Regions from separate parts of the Homo sapiens genome. Here regions 1 and 2 are each linked to region 3. Evidence: promoter capture Hi-C in 16 types of primary human blood cells and fetal thymus (Javierre and others, 2016). All regions are on one chromosome and are shown on one strand. The core of a region is centred on a gene start or on the middle of the fragment in contact, and the rest is flanking DNA. Distances in the headings are between cores, read along the strand shown. Region 1 has its middle 120 kb from the start of LINC00588. Region 2 has its middle 160 kb from the start of LINC00588. Region 3 holds the start of CYP7A1 (cytochrome P450 family 7 subfamily A member 1).

Region 1 (3,478 bases), core at 561-3,060, 1.1 Mb before region 3:
CAGCTTTGACTCCCGATGATTTTGTTTCTGATCTCATTCACCAAATTAACCTTAAAAACTCTGATGCCAGAATGCTTCGGGAGATTGATTTTAGTAGTAATACAACATGAATCTCCCACACAGCTGGCTCTGCATGAATAACTCTTTCTCTATTGCAATCCCCCTGTCTGGATAAAATGGTTCTGTCTAGGCAGCAGTCAAGGTGAACCTGTTGGGCAGTTACACTATAAATTTTATTAAACACTATGAAATCCCCTTGGGGCAGCATAGCAATTGCAGCCTAAATGATTCAGATCATTCCAAATTGAGGGATGGGAACTGAAGGGGCAGAAAGTGGGCAATCCCTTTCCTCCCCATCATAAGGGTCATGCCCAACACCCCTATAACAAGAATGAGTTAACAAGAGAGAAGCACAAGTTTATTTGATTATAGTTTTATGTGACATGGGAGCCTTCAGGATGAGTGGCCAAAAGATACAGGGGAACTGATCTATTTTTATGTTTAAGTTCAATAAAGTATAGAGAGGCCTGTGGAAAGGTGATTGGACAAAAAGCCTAGGGTCTAATGCTAATAGGCTGAGGGGGGAAACCCAGAAAGGCCTGTCTGTTCAGATTCTTCTTGGCCTTTCTGTGAAGCATTCCTTCCTCTCTGGTATGGGGCAGGACCTTTCTGGAATAAGGGTCTTAATTTCTTTATGGCCAGCTATCACACAGAAGGGCAAGGAGGTGGGGATTAGAGTAATATTTTTGGGCTTTATGGCTGGCTTTGGGGGAATGGCGTTCTGCTTTTTATTACCAAGCTTTGGGAAGAGGGATTCCATTTTCTATGGCTTGCCTCAGGGGAGAATGAGAGATGAGGGAAGGGAGGGCAGGAGAAGGTCAGAGACTTTGCTTTTGAGGCTGCTTCTGAGGCCTCTACTTAGGGTATCATTTTCTGGGCACCAACAAGACCAATGTTTTTGCTTTTTCCCTTTAACATCCAGTGAAAGGGAGCTGGAGTATTTGAGCCTCTAGTTTCCATCTTTGAGACACATACCCATTTCCTTTTCCTTGGGAAGGCCACAGTTCATTCTCTTTTGATAAAAGCACAGGACAGAGATAGTCATCAAGATGTCAAATAGCTACAATTGCTATGCCTGCCAAGCAGTAGATAAAGCTGAGTAATAAGATGAAACTCATAGATAGCCAACCCTTAAGAGTGTAAGCCAAAAATAAGATTCTACAGCTCCCCAGCCATGTGAATGGATCCCTCCTTTCAACCAAAGATATTTCAGAGTTAACTTGAAAACCTAGTTCAGACAATGATGAAAGAGGAGGTTGGACATGCCTCATTATACTCCTTCAGCATTAAGATCAACACAGACCTTAAGTTTGATAAGAAACATTTATCATTTATTCTCTCTGAAGACTGCTCCCAGGAGGCTTCATCTGCATTATAAACCCTCAGTCTCCACAACCCCTTATCTTAACCCAGACATTCTTTTCTACTGATAATAACTCTTTTAACCAATTGCCAATCAGAATATTTTAAAATCTACCCATGACCTAGAAGCCCCCCAACCCATTTTGAGTTGCCCTGCCCTTCCGGATCGAATCAATATAAATCTTACATGTACCAATTGATGTATTATGTCTCAGTAAAACGCATAAAAGCAAGCTGTACCTGGAACACCTTGGACATATTTTGTCAGGACCTTCTGAGGCTGTGTCATGGGTGTGTCTTTAACCTTGGCAAAATAAAACTTTCTAAATTGATTGAGACTTGTCTCAGATAATTTTTGGTTCACAAGGCAGAGGAGATATTACTAAATAACTTTTGAAGCTGTGACTACCAGCTCAGGTTTCAGGCAGCTGGGGCTGAACTCAGTCTGGATAGACAACTACTGGTCAACAGGCCAGCCGAGAAATGGCTCCTGTAGAAATGGAGCTTTCACTTACGGGAGAAGGATGAGCCAATAACCGACTTCAAAGGATAAGGGCATAATGACTGAACCAGGACAGTAACATACCAACCCCTATAATCAGGGGTGCGAGTCTCTTACCACAGGAGGGTAGGAGAGGTGTTGTAGGCAAAGAATAGCCACCACGGGTGGGTGGGATTTTAAGCCTATTTTTTCTGCCTGCAAAGATGGCAGGTGTCCATTTCACTATTAATCCACTAGAACAACATATCATCTAGCATAGAGTGGCCTCATTATCTGAGCGATCATTATTCAAGTTGTGCCAGTTTTTGTTTAAATTAATTAATTTTTCAAATGCCAACTTTTATTTTAGATACAGGACGAACATGTGCAGATTTGTTACATGGCTATGTTGCACCCAGGTAGTGAGCACAGTACCCAATGTGTAGTTTTTAAGGCCACATCCCCTTCTCTTCCCCTTCTAGTAGTCTGCAGCATCTATTGTTTCCATGCACCACAGTTTTTTAAAGACTGTACCAAGAAATGTTTTTTAGTTATATCAGAAAATATTTATTAAAGGACTAAAGAACTGACCACTTGAAAAACCAGTCCCCATTCATATGTCATTCCACTTAATATGGGCATCTATCCTTGATAACTCTAGCTACATCTTCACCAATATCTCACAAACTGTAATTATATATGAAAATATAATGCAAACACATGTAAATTGCTGGTGCAGTGGTATTATAAACTTTTTCAGAAGATGTGGGTTCTTTATGAAGCTGATAAAGTGATTCTGGAGAATTGGCTGATACCCAATGAAGATGGGCAAATGACTGAACAAGAGCAGAAGAATGCTGCTTGACAAGAGAAGGGTTTGAAAAACAAAGGATTAAGATAAACCATGGGGAAAATTCATGAAGCTTGGAATGTTTTGGCAGACTTGCCTCTTGTATTAGTCTATTTTTGCACTGCTATAAAGAACTACCTGAGACTAATTTATAAAGAGAAGAGGTTTAATTGAGTCACAGTTCCACATGGTTGCAGGCCTCAGGAAATGTACAATCATGGCAGGAGGTGAAGGGGAAGCAAGGCACGTCTTACATGGTGGCAGGAGAGAGAGAGACAGCTAGTGAGGAACTGCCAAACACTTTTAAAAGATCAGATCTCATGAGAACTCACTCACTATCATGAGAACAGTATGGGGGAGACTGCCCCCATGATCGAATCCCTTCCCACCAGGTTCCTTCCTCAACACGTGGGGTTTACAATTTGAGATGGGATTTGGGTGGGTACACAGAGCCAAACCATATCACCTCTTTTTAAGATCATTTTTTGTAAGGCAAATGGCAAGTGAAGAATATGGTCGGTAGTTATGGGGTAATAATGCCAATAAAAGCAATCAACACTTAGTTCCTTCTTTGTTCATCCTAAGAAGCAGATTGTCATCACAATTATAAACATAAGGTATATTTTTATCTTTGAGAAAAAGCTCCAGTCAATCTTTTTTACTCTTTTCTATAAAAATTTATCCCTGTTGTATTCTTTATTCTTCCCAGTATCAGTTATCTTCAG
Region 2 (3,362 bases), core at 820-3,319, 1.1 Mb before region 3:
TTTACTGCAGGTGAAAATGCCACTGGGTTTTCAGTTATCTTGGGTAGAGTTCCATATTGTAGCTAAAAGAGACAGATCTTTCAGGGTCTTTTCAATCTCAAACAAACTCCTGAAATCTGATGACATCTGAAACATAGAATAAAGAATTTCTTGGAAAGTTAGATAGCATTATTGGCAGGAAAATCTCAAAAACTAAAGTTCAAAGTAACTGTACCAAGTAATCAATAAAACCTGGCAAACAAACTGGCACGGAGAAAGAGGCTGTGTAATTCAACAAAGCATTTAGACAAGCAAGACGGCCTTACTTATTTCTGTCATGCAGAATCAATTCAAATGCCAGCTTTCTATACAGGTTTTAGAATTATTTCTCTTGGTATAATAGTTTGAGTTCCAAAAGGATTCTAGAGGGTAACATAATGTGTCTCCAAATATTGTCAACTTAAAACCATGCATTATAGTTATTATTTAATTAGGCTATTGGTTAGCCCCATATATTCATTTCAGGTCTAATATTTGCTTGCTTCATTGAGATAATCTCATCAACTTAGTAAGCCTTGAGTTTCCCTTGCCTATTTCCAGAGTTTTTGTACTAAAAAATGTTTTTGAGCCTCAGACTCATACCAGTAAAAGTGACTTTTGCAGCTCTGTCCCCATTAGAACAGATCCATGATGTACCTTCCTAAGTTATTCAAAGTGTCTGTAGAGATTCTATGTGCTTTTTGAGGAAATTGTCCAAAAGCAGAATTTTGTACAGATATAGATATAAAATATATATGAAATAGTATATATTATTAATTATATATAACATATAAAATATATAATATATAATTATATATGAAATAATACTTTAATTATATATGTAAATAATATACACTATTTGTATATATTCATATATATTTATATATGAATATATAAAAAATTATATATTTATACATCTATATGTAAGTATATATTAGTATATCTATATAAATATAAAATATAAATATATATAAAAATATATCTTTCTATATGACTATATAAAAATATATATGAATATATATGAAATTATATATTTATATATCAATATATAGATATATACACATACATCTAATCTCTTGTGAGGAACAGCAGGAAGTGGTTGGGGAGGGGGTTCTGCTGAAGTGATCCTCATTGGGATATGAATATATATGAAATATATATGAATATGTATGAAATTATATATTTATATATCTATGTATGAAATATATCTATATATTGATATACCAAATATATCAAAATATATCGATTGATAATATCAAATTGATACATCAAATATATCAAAATATATCAATTGATATATCAAATTGATACATCAAATATATCAATAGATATATTAAAATATACCTATTGATATATCAAAATATACCTATATATTGATATATCATATATATCAATATGCATGAATATATGAATATATAAATATATATGTAATTATATATTTGTATATTAATATAGAAAATATATGAAATTATATATTTATATATTAATATATAAATATATATACACACATATCTAATCTTTAGTGAGGAACAGCAGGAAGTGGTTCGGGAGGGGGTTCTGCTGAAGTAGCGCTCATTGGGAAGCTTGAATAAACAGATAGGTCCTCAAGTCCCCACTTGCTCCTATCCACCCAGTTGACAGGGGCTCCAGACTTTGAGACGAAACTCACTGAGGAAGCTGGGGGTAATTGATTAAAATCTGCACACTGCATGATTATAAGCCCCACCCATATATATATGAAATATATGTGTATAAGCATGTATGAAATTAGTCTAAAAACTACATTTTACATAGGGACCATAAACATAACTTGACCCTTGAGATAAAACTACATATTATGCAACGGGGGTGCTGAGGTATCTTGAGATACTGGATGGCAAATGCTATACAACTCAGATTTGGGAGGTTAGAATTACTTCCATAATGTAGCTGGCCCACAAAAAAATACTAGCCCCAAAAAGTATGTAATTAAAAGGAAAGATTGTTTATCCAACCTTTTTTCAACTGCATCCTTATAATATATCAGATGCCTTTCAGGGGTGTTTTTATTTTTTTGTCTTTCTGTATTTCCACGTTTTATACAATATCTATGTATTTCTTTCATAATTGCATTGGGAATAATGAATTCTGCTTTGAGTCCTTTAAAATTCAAAAGATATAAATGAATTTTGGGAACTTACAACAATAAACATTTCTGATATACTCACAGATAGTAAAACAAATTACTATCATCTAGTTAAATAACAGCAAAACGTTCTGACATTGAATTTAGTCATTCCACCCTCAATTATGTGATGATCTCCTAAAGGTAAATATTAGAAATTTTCTCTCTCCAGACCCTTATTAAAGAGAAAATCATATGCTCTATAGAAGATACGCTGTCCACTTTTATAAGAAAATAGAATGTTCTTCTTTAACCAGAGTCTTTTATTATTCAGATAAGATTTTGAGGGTCAGATTCTGAGCTGCAACTTGAAATTTCCTCTGACTCTTTTCTTGGAGTAATTCAAAATTGGCAGGAAAGCTTTTGTTTGCTAACCACCAAGTAATTATTTCATCATAAGGCTCAGAAGAGAAAGAATGTCTATTACTTCTGCTTTTGAAGAGGCACCTTCAAGAAAGATTCAAACCCATTGCACAAGGGGTGGAAAAATAGACAGACACATGCAATTTGAATTTGGCAGGAGTATGAAACGCCTTTGAGATATTAGATTTTCCAGTTGCACCGCCTAGCAGAGTGAGAGCTGTCAAACTTGGAGAGACCAGTATGTTTTTAGTATATATAAATAACATATTGTTCACAGGATTAACAAAGGGTGGGGAAGTCCTGTGTTGTAAATAAAAGAATATCTTTGAAATATTTAGGTCTTGGACCAACTGCTGTAGATTATGTATATAATCTTGGATAAAATCCCTAAATTAGAGCTCTGTGTCTTTGACATGAACCTATCAAAGTTTGCTATTCTGAATCCTCTTATTAGATTTTGTGAGAAAAGAGGACTGGATTAGGAGTCAGACCTTTAGGCTCTGGCCCCACCTTTGTCACTTACTGTGTGGCGAGGGGTTTGAACTTCAGTTTCCTCATCTATAAAATGGGGATATAATTCCTAGTTACTTAATACATTTAATAGTCATGAGATGATACATTTAAAAGTATTTCACAAACTATAAAATGTTATAAACATGTAAAGAATTATTATTAGTAAACATAGTGCATGTAAAGGAATTTTCAAATTATGTAAAAACTCTTATGCGATACTATCACTGTGCCTTTTATTAGTTGTGTTGTCAAAGCTTGAGAATCCAGAGAGCTTTCTATACTGCTCTACCTGATAAACCCAAGG
Region 3 (3,445 bases), core at 554-3,053:
CATGTTTCCTTTGATTTGCTCTGAGGAACTCAAGAGGATTGGCACCAAATTGCAGAGCACAGCCCAGGTATGGAATTAATCCATTCTCTAGAGGTGGTTCACCCGTTTGCCTGTCAGACACAAGTGTATGATAGACATGGATGATTACAGTTTTGGGTTTTTACTTACATCAGGTTTTAAAATTTTTCCCACTGACTTCAAACTTTGAAACCCTATAGTTTATAGATATTTCTTTTGTTGGATGGGCCCTGCTCTTTTACTACAGTAATAGGTTATATTAACCTAGTAACATGATATGTTGGTGGAAAGGATTACTAAATCCATCCATTCATGCATCCGTCCATATACACATTCAACAAGCACCCGTCTACTATGTGCTCATCACTTTTCCCAGTGATACAGGCAAAAGGATTTACAAGACCAACAAGATTCTTGTTGTCAGTGCGGAAACAAAACTACATTCTAGTGTTTATCACTTTGCTAAGCATCATTTTTCTAAATATCTCAAAATGTTTCTTTTGATTATTTTCTTTAAAGACACAGATCACTGAATAAGGGAGGATTTCAGAACTGAGGTTTTGAAAATATTCCTAGTTTAAAGATATCTATATTATATTCTATAAGGATGGTTTCAGAGAAGAAGAATCTCATGTGAGAAATCAGCTTATTATAAAATGAAATTGAGTAAGATAAACACTGACGGAATCATCTATTGTAATTCAGTGCTCCTTTAAAATGTTTTTATTAGAACATGTAAACTTATTTTCCAACATAAACTTCTGTACCTCTTGATAGAATAATACAGTATAAAGTAATTACCTTTCTTTTCTTAGTTTGAAGATAAGTAGTTTAATTAAAAGTAAAAACTATCAGGCCTGAAAGAAACTGCAAAAGGCAGAAAACACATAGCAATCTACAAAGCTGAAAGATGGTTAGGGTTATTTTCTCTTTTTGAGATTGACATAGCAGAGAATATCTATATGCCTCCCCACAATTACTCCTTGAGCCAATTAGAAGTTAAATAAACTATGGTTCTGGATCTGACTGTATTTGTTTTTCTTGCATTCTTGAACCAGTTGTAAATAAATGAAATCGATGTCACATACACTCAGCAAACTTTCCCAATTCACCACAGTTGATTAACATTTATTTAAAAACAGTAATAGAATGATCAGCTCAGGCTCTATGCTCTTGTTCAGGCTTAGGCTGAGTCTATGCGATGCACAAGAATGAGCTTAAAAGAGAACATTTATTTAACAAGAGTATCTATTGAAGCCATGTGAGAGAAAGCAATCCTTTCCATTGTAGATTCCCACTTGCTACTTGTATCCTTACTAATCTGGGCTTCCTCTTTAGATACACATATAAATGTACATAGAGACCTTATACAATTTCTGTCAGTTATGTTTAACACCAATATACATTTATATATTACCATCGGTATATGCCAATACTAAAAAGGGAAGCTGTCATATGTCTTGTGAGATATAGTAAAAAAGATATTACTTTAAAAATTCAAATCAAATTTTTCATTTAAAAAATAAGGAAGATAATGCTAATATGTGTAAGTATAGAAAACCAAATTTACTGTATAAAAATGAAGGTAAAAAAATTAAATGGATGAATCAAAGAGCAATTTAAAGATAAAACATTACTTACCTTCTCCTAATTCCAAGAATAAGCCATAGACAACAGCATGCTGCTATAGCAATCCCCCAAATCAAAGATGTGGTCATCATTTTGCAAATCTAGGCCAAAATCTCTGAGGAAGAAAATCTCTGATTAGAAAGGGAAGGATGCCACTGAAAAGAGACTCAAGCTAGGCTTTTTATATACATAGTATCCAGATCCATTAACTTGAGCTTGGTTGACAAAGCAAACAATTAGCCATTTGTTCATTCTATTAGAAAAAAAAAAGTGGTAGTAACTGGCCTTGAACTAAGTCCACAGGTATCAGAAGTGGTTCCAAAGCAATCAGAGACCTGCAATACTTGATAAGTTGAAGGTCTCTCAAATATATGTTGACTTAACATTCGGACCTGGGGACAACAGCTAATATTAAGAGTTTGGTATGTGTAAAAAGAACAAATAAACCTGTTTAAGATGGGCATAGCTAATAAATACATAAACTATAATCATTTAAAGAAAGATAAGAATGAGTTATTCATCAAGCTTATAATTTGGTCTTGTTAACTTTTAAAGAAGAATTAATTTAGGTGCTTTGCCAGAGAGACGGTGATCAAGTTCAGAGGAAAGAGAACTGGGAAAAACATTTCTGCTGCTTCATGTTTCAGTGCTTTTATAAAATCATAGATATTTTACTACATATAGTAACATGTTACTCACCTAACATCCTCAAGAGAGTATTCTACATAAGTGCATCCTCTAGATAAATATAACTTATTGGAAGCATCAAAATTTTATCTATCATTCTTGTGACTAAAATGTTTATCAATGTTTCTAATTATTAAAGTAATAAATTTCATTTCAAGTAAGTTAAGACTAACTAAAACATATCTTGGTGGAAAGTGAACATCTATTAATAATTTACCTACCATGCTACTCCTTTACTCAGAAGTAACCACTAGTAACAATTTGGCATCTGTTCTTCCAAACTTTATTTCTGTGTACACAAAAATATTAGTTGAGTATTTATTACGTGCCAAGAACTCTTCAAAAGTATTCCAGTTGCAGGCATTAATAAGATAGGCAGATTTCCTAATCTAATGGAGATTCTATTCCAATGGAGAAAGGAGTAATAAAATACATGTTATGAAAAAAATAAAACATGGTATAGAAAGCTATGGGGGAATGAGGACAACTTTAGATATGATGATCAGAGATGGGCTCTCTGAAATTGTGACATTTGAGATCTGAATGACAAGAAGAGACTACTCATGTGAATATCAGAAGGAAGGATATTCCAGGAAGAGGAAGCAGCAAATGCAATGTCTTGAGTCAAGGATCAACTTGGTGAGTCTAAGAACCAAAAAGAAGGATGTATCCTACTGAAGCAGAGTGAATGAGAGTTCACAGAATTAAGACAAAAGAAGGTAGGCAACAGTACTGTGTGTGTATATATATGTATATAAACACACACACACATACACCCACAGTATTCTCTATATTTATACATGTGTGTATCTATATGTGTGTATAAATAATTATATTGAATATGTGCTTAATCTTCCATTGGATAAATGTACTATAATTTATTTAACTGATTTCCTATTGATGGATATGTGGGTTGTTTCCAGTTTTGGCTATAGATGCCATAGATTTATTTCATGTGTTTTTTGTTTTTGCCTGTTTAAACAGAGATCACACATTTTTTGTGTGTAATTTATCACCATAAATATTAATATCAATCATTGTATGGCAGTACATAGATTTTTCTTAGAATCTAGGTTTTTGGGGGGCTTTGTGCATTTATTTAGACAGGTGG

Evidence for each region. Contacts are between HindIII fragments. The CHiCAGO score rates a contact against its expected background, and 5 or more counts as called.
Region 1: a fragment that was not itself captured here is called in contact with the fragment with the promoter of CYP7A1 in region 3 in 2 of 17 cell types (total B cells and total CD8 T cells); the score reaches 5.9 in total B cells.
Region 2: a contact is called between a fragment that was not itself captured here and the fragment with the promoter of CYP7A1 in region 3, in 3 of 17 cell types (total B cells, naive CD8 T cells and fetal thymus). The highest score is 6.8, in total B cells.

Annotation. Positions count from the first base shown.
Region 1 is chr8:57,401,083-57,404,560 of GRCh38, forward strand. No RefSeq gene overlaps it. Among named protein-coding and RNA genes, the nearest start is that of LINC00588, 120 kb to the left of the region's middle. The HindIII fragment of the contact is 2,027 bases long and covers 798-2,824 here.
Region 2 is chr8:57,438,944-57,442,305 of GRCh38, forward strand. No RefSeq gene overlaps it. Among named protein-coding and RNA genes, the nearest start is that of LINC00588, 160 kb to the left of the region's middle. The HindIII fragment of the contact is 941 bases long and covers 1,600-2,540 here.
Region 3 is chr8:58,498,360-58,501,804 of GRCh38, forward strand. CYP7A1 (cytochrome P450 family 7 subfamily A member 1) reads right to left here and starts at 1,804. Exons shown (of 6, transcript NM_000780.4): 1 at 1,660-1,804; 2 at 1-110. The coding sequence starts at 1,739. RefSeq lists a silencer at 96-1,682, a promoter at 1,780-3,445 and an enhancer at 2,014-2,235. The HindIII fragment of the contact is 6,882 bases long and covers 1-2,170 here.